Regions from separate parts of the Homo sapiens genome. Here all the other regions are linked to region 1. The links are contacts of gene promoters, found by promoter capture Hi-C in blood cells and fetal thymus (Javierre and others, 2016). All regions are on one chromosome and are shown on one strand. Each heading gives the region's core, a stretch centred on a gene start or on the middle of the fragment in contact. The rest is flanking DNA. Distances are from core to core; before and after follow the strand shown. Region 1 holds the start of LINC01551 (long intergenic non-protein coding RNA 1551). Region 2 has its middle 370 kb from the start of PRKD1. Region 3 has its middle 410 kb from the start of PRKD1.

Evidence for each region. Contacts are between HindIII fragments. The CHiCAGO score rates a contact against its expected background, and 5 or more counts as called.
Region 2: a contact is called between a fragment that was not itself captured here and the fragment with the promoter of LINC01551 in region 1, in 2 of 17 cell types (M0 macrophages and M2 macrophages). The highest score is 5.6, in M0 macrophages.
Region 3: a contact is called between a fragment that was not itself captured here and the fragment with the promoter of LINC01551 in region 1, in 2 of 17 cell types (endothelial precursors and M2 macrophages). The highest score is 25.8, in endothelial precursors.

What each region holds. Positions count from the first base shown.
Region 1 is chr14:28,771,254-28,774,538 of GRCh38, forward strand. LINC01551 (long intergenic non-protein coding RNA 1551) reads left to right here and starts at 1,451. Exons shown (of 3, transcript NR_026731.1): 1 at 1,451-1,602; 2 at 2,107-2,180. RefSeq lists an enhancer at 3,038-3,285. The HindIII fragment of the contact is 5,790 bases long and covers 1-3,285 here.
Region 2 is chr14:29,556,317-29,559,601 of GRCh38, forward strand. No RefSeq gene overlaps it. Among named protein-coding and RNA genes, the nearest start is that of PRKD1, 370 kb to the right of the region's middle. The HindIII fragment of the contact is 2,716 bases long and covers 437-3,152 here.
Region 3 is chr14:29,516,480-29,519,764 of GRCh38, forward strand. No RefSeq gene overlaps it. Among named protein-coding and RNA genes, the nearest start is that of PRKD1, 410 kb to the right of the region's middle. The HindIII fragment of the contact is 1,981 bases long and covers 715-2,695 here.

The DNA.
Region 1 (3,285 bases), core at 201-2,700:
TGTGTTAAAAGTCAAATTTATGGCTGATATTAAAAATAGTAATAAAGTCCAAGTGAATGGTTTTATGCAAAGGAAATCCCCATTACACATTTTGAACCAAAATAGCTCAAAGAGAGACATGTGTCCAAGCTGAAAAAAAGGTGATGATTTATTGTTTGCTTTTGCCATGGATTTTATTTGTGGAATAAGAATGTATTATCACAGGGGAAACATAGAATTTTGCTTACCAAACGTTAAAAAGAAAGTTGAACTCTTGTGCTAAGGTAAAGGGGTATAGATATAGAAGAAAGTTTTCCTGCATGAGTATTTTTTTTGGCCACATTAAATAAGTATACTTATTTGTATTTATAAGTGTTTATTTGGGTGACAGATAAATAGAATTTTAATGGCAAACATCATACTTTGAAGTCAAGAGTAAAACTGATTTCTTTGAATTCATAGAAACGAAGTATTGGAGTGGGAGTTCTGCTTGGACCCATGTCCAAATTACATATAATGGATATGACTAGAAGTTTGTTAGGTGTACTAGACACGAAGGTGGATATATGGAGAGAGAACTTTGTAAAGGCTTCCTGAAGCCCAATATGAACATCTCATTTCCCTTGATCTATCTTATCATCCCTCAACTTATCTTCTCAAAAAACACATGACAGTCTGGCATGGCATATAATACATTTTTGCATCGAACGGGTTGTAATGTTGTGTTATTTGTTGTCTCCAACTTTGACCGTTAAAATTAGTTTATGTCAGAAATACACTTCAAAACTTTTGAGGATTATTTTCTTTCATATTATAATTGTTTTTAATAAGATGAAGGTTGTCCTTTGTGAAATTTTGGAACTGAAACTGATCACAACTTAAAACTTGAAATCCCAAATTAAAGTTTATTTCCAGGTTTAAAGTATTTTACTTGAATTTGTCTGTTGTAAAGTTAACAAAAAATATTAATATGTAAAACACTGAGAAAATGATGTAATTGAACTAGAGGAGTTAAAGTATTATTTCAAATATGTTTCTTCAGCCTGTTACAAAATTGGGAACCAAGTGAACATGAAGTCTAGAACTAACAAGGTTTAATACAAATATCCTTATGGTCATGGAAGCCTTCATGTAGTTTATGTGACTTGCATAAAATCAAAGGCAGAGAGGCAAAAATTTAGTCTCATAGTGTATTGATTTTAATATATATTTAAGTTGGTGCATATTTCACCCAAATACGTGGATAAATTCAATATATTTAGAAGTCTATAGAAGTGTAGTTTTTTAAAAAGTGTATTTTCTACAACATTGTTGAGGAATTTGCATGCACTGGGAAAATTTTGGTTTTGAGAAATTAATTTTATGAACAGCTAAAGTGGTTGGTTGTGTTTGAGACTAAAAGCCTGTTGGAGAATTAGACTAACAAAGGGTGAAGGTGAAGATCATTAGAGGTTTTAGAACTGGCTGAGATGGGTTGCTGGGGTTGTGTAACTGTGCCTAGAGGGCGGGGTTCCTGTACATTCCTACTTCACCAGATAACCTGCCCCCAACACCACTTCAGCTTCTGCCAGACAGATGGAACTCTCCAGCATGAAAATCTGCGCAGCCATTCCAACAAGCAGGGTAGGTGAAACTTGAATTAAAATTCTCCCCTCTTTATTTTTCTACTTAAGTCCAGATCCTGGAGATATGGAAAGAATAGAGGTCATCTAGATTCTCTCTTTTGGGCACACACGTCTGCATTCTTCCTAAGAGCTACCTACCTGTAAGAGTTAAAAGGTGCTAGAGATCTTTCCCAGTTAGTACTTCATGCTAGATTTTCTTTTGCGTGCATTTTTTTTTTTTTTTTAAGATTTCTTTTCTCTATACCAATCATTCCCCTTTTCTATTCTCCCTTCAGGGCCCTTTCCCCTCAATCACTAGCAGTTAAAATAACCCACCTCAGATTTTGGCTCCCAAAGGCACCCATTCCCCACCCTAGCGGTCAGTTCTAGGGACCTTATCCTGAGGATGTAGGCCAAGGGGGCTCCAGGCTGGCAAATAGATGATGTATTGTTATGTTTTGTGCCTCTTGTCTCCCTCCCGATTTCTACTGTGTTTTGTTTTTGTTTTTCCCCACCACCTAAGGCTCTGCCTGAGGTTGTCCGAAGGATGCCGAGGAAAAGGATATCAGGACTGGAATGGCTCTTACAGCAAGATCCGTAAGTGAAAGTGCTTTTCAGAGGGGAAGGGGTAGGGTAGGGAATATGTGTAACTGACTGCTTTGGACTGAGTTTTAACGCCTGACTTTGGGGTCCTGGCCTTAAGTGTTCATCTTTTCTTAGAAAATGTTAGCAGGCTCGCTACCAACAGACGTAGCTGAAAGGATGCATAATTTTTTTCCACGTTGACAGAAATCACGGTGAATCCCCAGGTCAAAAGGATGTAGACACGGCAAAGGAACATGGAGAGAAAACGAGAAAAAATTATACGGAGAAGGGGTAGTGGGAGACTGAAATAGGTCCTAAAGTGTAAATTAATTCATTTCGTGGAAATATGATTTCTGAGTCTTATGGTTGCTACAGGAACTTCCGGGACGTTCTTAACGCTCAAAGACAGGTTTATTAGCTATCCTTATTTCAGTTAAAGCTCTTTGCTCCAGAGCCAAGAACCTGCTTCTCTCTAAAGTTCTTCTTTGGATCGCCCTTCTCTATTTGCACACTAACATAGCCAACCTTCCCCAGAGCTGGCCCTCCGCCCCCAGCTCCTTGGCCTGGGTCACACCAGGGTCCCGGTCGGATTTAGCCGGGCTGCTCCGGGTCGGGTGAGGCACTGGGTGCGTGTGGGAGTCTTCTCTTCTGTCTCTTCGAAAGACTAGGGAAATGAACACCGTTCTGGGCTTGACTTTGTCCCTGCTGGGAATATCCCAGTTCCTGGCTTTGGAAATCTCAGGCAAATAATTGATTCTTAATGCACACTTAGGAGACGTCGGTAGTACGCTCGAGAGCCTCTCTGTCCCAGAGTGGCTGAGAGCACGCGCCAGACACAGGTTGGCTCGGCCCGAAGCGAATTTGGGACTCTCGTCGCGGTGTCCTATTAATTAGCTTTTCCCGGCGCCTCAGGGACTCCGGGGTGAAGATGGAGAGGTGGCATAATGGCGGGACTTGAAGTCGTTGTGGCAGGGACCTGGCAGCGTTGTTTTCTCGGGTTTTGAACCGGTGTGGAGAAGTAACTTCAGCTGCTGAGTTGGGGCCGCCCTGGCTGCGCGGTGGCGGAGGAGGAGAGGAGAAGCGCTCTCGGGACATTGCGGCGGCGATCCCCGCAGAG
Region 2 (3,285 bases), core at 545-3,044, 790 kb after region 1:
AGATAGTAGGAAATAGTGAACACTCACTGAGTTGCACTGGCCTTCCATTCCCTCTCCTTTGTCTTCATTCCTTTTTATCTTGCAAGGTTTGAGAGTACAGCGCTATGGTGCTCCAAAGGGACATCCAACCGCCTGAGAAACCTGTAGGGGAAACATAATCCCCATCGGTTCTTAGCTGGACTGGACTCCTATCACAAAAGGCAGATTAATAAGAGAAACACAGAAGTATATTAACATGTATATTTCATATATACATAGGAGACATCCAGAGAATGAGTAGTTTTCAAAGAGGTGGCTTTGAATTCCAGCTTATATAGCAAATTCAACAAGGAACAGTAAACTCGTAGATAAATGACAAGGCAAAGGAAAAAGACTTTGAGTTTCTTGGGGCAACAACTTGTGGGAAGGCAAGTAATTGGCAGATAAAAGTTAGTGAAGCTTGTTAATGCAGATGTATCTTGTGCTATCTCCAGGACCATAAAGGTCCAAAGTTATCTTCAGTGGTTAATCTTGTTCTCTCTGGGAGAAGAGGCGGCAGGATACCTTTTGTGTTTGTAAATGTGTGTCATGCTTTTAGACAAATAGAGGAGAGCAGAGAGCTTTCTTGCATCTGCTGCTTTTTGTCTTCAACTCACCTATTCTTCATATTTTAGGGTGGCATATTCTGGCTCCCCACAAACCCCAGGCAGGGACCTTTCTGGGCCTCAGTGTTTCACACCTGCTACAGCAGCTGTTAGGCCCTTCCTACGCAACTAGAAGGACTTACTCTCCAAGCCTAAATTTGAAGGAGAAGAAATGATGAGTATAAACACCAGCTTTGAGGCAGATTCAGAATGAGCTCTTGTGATCCTTCGCCAGACCTTTGTCTCTTACAAATAAACACAGTCTTACGTAAAATTCCCTGCACACTTTTGAGAAATGTTAAGAAGAGTTGAAGAAAGAAAACCATGTCAAGGATCCTGTGTTCTAATTAATGTTGCCATTGGATCTCTTAAAATAGGAAGGCAGGCCCTGTGCTTTGGTGTAGCATGACTCAAATTGGTTGTGGTGAAAAATCACTTTTAAAAAAGTTTCTAATTCATTGCATAGTTATACTTTTGGAAAACATACTAAAATGAATTGCTATAAGAATAAAATAAAAAGGACAATAAAATACAATTCCAATTTTTTTATTATTATATTCAACAGCATACAATTACTCTACTAAATTGTTTTAAATATTCCTAAGCATTTACTTTCAATTTTTGTACTTATTTTGTAGTGCCCAATGACCAGCCCTACTCCATAGATTTCACTTTTTATAACACTAGTTTAGTGTCTTGATTAGAAAGTTAATTTTATGAATACGTGAAAGCTACTGATTGTTTTAATTAAGAAACTTTTTTTTCCTCAGCAGTGAATGATTCCTGCAGAAACCTCTCTTTATGACCTTCTCTATTTAACGTTAGAGGTTAAAAATCTGGGGGTTGGGAGGAGAATTGTGTGAATAAATTCAGCTGATATAACACACATTTTAAAGTATCAATGGGGCGGCCGGGTGCGGTGGCTCACGCCTGTAATCCCAGCACTTTGGGAGGCCAAGGCGGGCGGATCACGAGGTCAGGAGATCGAGACCATCCTGGCTAACATGGTGAAACCCCGTCTCTACTAAAAAAATACAAAAAAATAGCCTGGCGAGGTGGCGGGAGCCTGTAGTCCGAGCTACTCGGGAGGCTCAGGTGGGAGAATGACGTGAACCCGGGAGGCGGAGCTTGCAGTGAGCAGAGATTGCGCCACTGCACTCGAGCCTGGGCGACATAGAGAGACTCAGTCTCAAAAAAAAAAAAAGTATCAATGGGGCTTTAAAATTGTTTTGATTCCCAGAGTATTTCCTTGGCCCATCTCAGAAGTAGTAATATCACCTCATTGTCAACTAATCCTTATTTCTCCCTATACTTGGGGTAATATAAGTTAAGCCAGTAGTAATAACAATCAGGTTCAAATTTTTTCCAGAAGTGTGCAACATCATGTATGCTGAAACAAAGCAAAACAAAATAGAGAACTTAGAACATGTGTAGTGATTAACACTTTGGACTCTGGAGGCAGAGTACCTGGGTTCAAATTCTGACCCCATTAGCAATTAGCTATGTGACCTTGGGCAATTTACTTAATATCTTTGTACCAGAGTTCACTTATCTTTTGTGGAAATATATAGAACGTCTACCAAACTCTCATAGAATTATGACAAAGGTTAAATGAAATGCTTGAGTTTTTGGCACCTTAGCTACCTAAGTGTTACATATAATTATTGTTTGGACATTTATATTAGGCTCTAGACTAAAGCATACTTTCAAGATTGGTTTGATGACTAGGACTCGAGAAATCTAAACTTTGGTTTCTGGTTACAGTCAAAATTGGGTAAACACATTCCACCCTGTCTCTTCCCCCAAATGCAACTAAAAGCCCTCGACATACTGCACAGGGCAGCTATCCGAGGATACTGAAGATTAAATGGTAGCAGGCCTACTGGATAAAGAAACCAGAACTTGAATCATCACCAAATCAGCAATGAATTGCCCATTCTAATTCTCTAACATCTTCTGGGAATGAACTCAACGACAGCCTAAAATGTGAGAGTGCCCATTGAATGTCAGCAGGAAAACCTCCAAGAGAAACTCTATTTCTTGACTAAGGAGCAGAAAGGAGGCCCACTGGAGTGAGAGAGACTGGGGAAATCTCGTGTTGTCATTTTTTCTCCCTTTACTGTTGTTTCTCACCCGAGCCACCGAGGCAATCCTGAAACAGCTGTGACAGCAGTGGCAGTGACTGTCAGGCAGTCACTAATAACTCTAAATGAGGGAACCCTTTTCTTTTGCCAGATGAACTGTGGTCCCAAAAGTATGAAAGGTGCCCCATTGTTACTTTTTCTCTATGTATCCTGCTGGTTGGTCCTGGAGAAATTCAGAGTCATAGTAATTATGAAGAGGAGTAGAAAATCTAAATCCCTGGCTTTCTAGCCAGAAGATCACAAAAGGGATTTCTGAAAAACAGAATGTATCAGGAAGATCATAGAGAGGAGGGAGCTCAAGAAAGTAACTCCGGAAGTTGGGTATAAACTTCTGGGCTCGGTCTCAGTTTATAATACCTAGATCTGACTCTAAGCAGCTTATCAAAGCTTTTGAGAACTAGATTATGGGGTAAACTACCTGGGTCCTAAACTGATACTGGGTGGTGCACACAAAAGACAGATCCAAATAGCACTGCAAAGATTTTAAAAACTGAACCCTTTTTCAGAATTACAGCCCA
Region 3 (3,285 bases), core at 455-2,954, 750 kb after region 1:
AATGAAGTGTTTTGGTTAGATCATGTTATTAGTCAGGTTAGGCTATGTATGCTGTAGTGGTAATCTAATTCCTAAATATCCTAACACAACAAATATTCATATCTTGCACATGTCTAATACTGGTCTGCAAATGTTTTACTGCATTTAGTCAATCAGTGACCCAGATATGGAAAGCCTTGTTGTATTGAGATACCACCATCTCGGTAACATGCTTCAAGGGCCACCATGATAGAGAAAAATACTGATCAAGGGGCTCATAGCTTTTCACTTCCTTGGCCAGAATGTGACATACATCCCTCCAACCATAGCCAATTGGTCAGAACTGTTCTCATGGTCCCAACCCATTGCAAGGGTACATGAGAAATTTAAAGGTGTATGTACAATATTATGTGACCATTTCTATATCTGCCACACTCTCAAATTTCTCAACAAGGATTGTAAAATTTGTGATTCTTTAGTTATAAAGTCTGGCATTTACTGACTACTTCCTACTTATCAGGCAATTTACATATGTTAAAACTTACTACCTAGAATGATCTACCAAAACAGGCAATGTTATCCCAGTTTCATAGATGAAAAACGGTTTTAGAGAAAACCATATTCCCAACAATTATTGGAGCTAACCTCTGAATCCAGGGCTATTTAACCCAAATAACTGTTTCTCCAAGTTTTACTGTCTTTCATGAGTATGATATAATGAAAATGGTTTTCAAAAGCTTGTGCTTTAGCATAAGTAGGAAAACAAATCTGAAATGTGTTTTAATTATGTTAAAATGCCTGAAGGAAATTGTATTGTTTTCCTGTAAAAAGACTGCAGGTTATCTAAAATATAACCTCTCTTTACTTTTGATTGAAATTAAATAAAATCACATGATGACAATGATTATCTGATGTTTATTAAAAACTCTAATAGCCCATTACTTGTTTTTGCTGAAAAAATTATAAATTATTAGATAAACTGGGTAAAAATTACATAAAGATATAAGTTGGGTGTTATTGGGATAGACTGAATAATCATGAAGAGTTTTGTAGTTCCAGGATTCCCAAATTGCATAAAACACAGTGTTGGTCCATATTTGCATCTTCTTTGTTCTTGAGGATTAAATATGATCGCGTTAGCTCTCCTAATGTTTTGTTTATATGGCACCAACTCGGCAGTTATTTGAAAGCCCCAGGTGATTGAATGAAATTTTCCCTTTGCATTTGAAGTTTTCACATCAATTAATGCAATAAGAAAGTCATTGATTTAATTAATAATCACGGAAAATTCTTCTGCCTTGCCACCTCTAAATTTATCCTCAGTTAAAGAAATGGTTTCATTTATTTATTTAACTATATTCACTGAGTACCTACTGCATGCCCACCACCGTGCTAGGACTGGGGTTTCAAAGATGAATACATCAGAGGCCTTGCTTTTAAAGGGCTCAAGATATCATGAGTAAAAATATTTTAGCATTTGCTTCAGTTTATTTATTTCCCCTTAACTGAGCCCCATACCATTCTCTTTCTAGTAATTTAATTTGCCTATTTCTTAATATAACTAAGATTTTCATTATTTTATTAAGACATTTGTGCCCGTATTCTCTAAATGGCACCTGTTTTCAAAATACTTAGGAATATTAATTAGCTTGTTTTTCAGCACAAAGGAGAAAATCATGTTTTAAAAATGCAATTACCCTTTATCAGTTGAAATAATAGGATTTATTTTAAATATTTGTTTTTCAATGGTATACAAACAAATGCTAGAAACAAAATATAAGTAGTTTTTTCAGCTGATATTATTTTTTAGGATCTCAATATTTTGGAGAAATGAGTTCCTCACATCTAAAATTTATAAATACGTGCCGGTTTTCATTTGATGCAAACTTCTAAAAAACAACCAATTTTCTGGAGCAGAATTAATATAAAAGAAAAATTTTAGAGACTGTCTTTTTCATCTTTTCATTTTTAATTAATTAATTATTCTTAGTTTGCTTCTGAGAATTGGAAATGCCTTTCAGTATTTTCAAATGTAGAAAAAACGTAGAGTTAATCCATAAATGCCCTCTTGTGACAATCTCCAAAAATGCAACTGCCTTTTCCTTCATTTGCTACACTTTTCCTTTTTTTCTAAAACAATTTCATATATCCAAAGTGTAACAGTTTTGATTTAAAAAAATCAGTTTTATATTTTATCTGATGAAACTAACTCATCTATTTTTAATAAGCTATGGGGTGTATTGCAATTTAGACAGAAAAACGTGTGACAATACTATTTCTTCTGGCTTAGGAAAGACTTTCCTTCTACTGTCACTGATCTCCACTTTGGTGGTGTAAGTACATGGTGGAGTACATGGTGAGGGAGTTTGTAGATGTGAAAAGATTCTTTTTCAATCTTTTCTTGAAAACTTCCAGAGTCATAGAACATTTTCCAGTGAGATAGTTAAATATAATAAACACATTGAATTAGCCCTAGTCATTCCTTCACAATTATTGATAATTTTAATAAATGATCTCAGTTATATTGTGTAGTCATCTTTGGAGTTCCCAGAAGCAAATGTTAATTTTAAATTTTAAAATAAAACCAACAATTACTAAAGCAGTCCAATGACTTGCCCAGAGTAAAAAGTGAGTGCATCACTGTATGATCCATGGGCCAACACTGACTTTCTATGGGTTTTAAACATACATGTATTCAGAAGGCGGAAGACAGCAAAGCTTTTCAAAGGGCACTTGGTGTATATTTCTTAAAGTTTATTTCTGAACCTTTGCTTTATGCCAAGAATATCTAACTTTCTCTGGTTTTAGAACACAAAAAGAATGTTGAAGACTGTTTTCTTTTCAAAATTTAGGTTAAAACAGCTTTCCATGAAGAAATAAATCTTAAAATTTTTCTTAAGAAGATGCTATAATGTAGAACTATGAAAATAGCCAGACCTATGTTTGGACAAGTAGTTACTAGATTTAAAAATTACACACACACACACACACACACACACACATCAGTTTCTTTTTCTGAAAAAGGAGAGCAATAGTAACCTAATTACAGAGCTTTAGTGAGATTTACATGATATTTGTATAGCCCTTGCCCTTAGTAGAAGCTTAACACTATAGCCATTATTATTTGTAAAAAGTTTATGGCCCAGCGCTGTGGCTCACGCCCATAATCCCAGCACTTTGAAAGGCCGAAGCGGGCGAATCACGAGGTCAGGAGTTCAAGACTAACCTGGCCAATAAGGTAAAACCGCCCCCTGCTAAAAATACAAAAAATTAGCTGGGCATGGTGGTGCACACCTGTAATCCCAG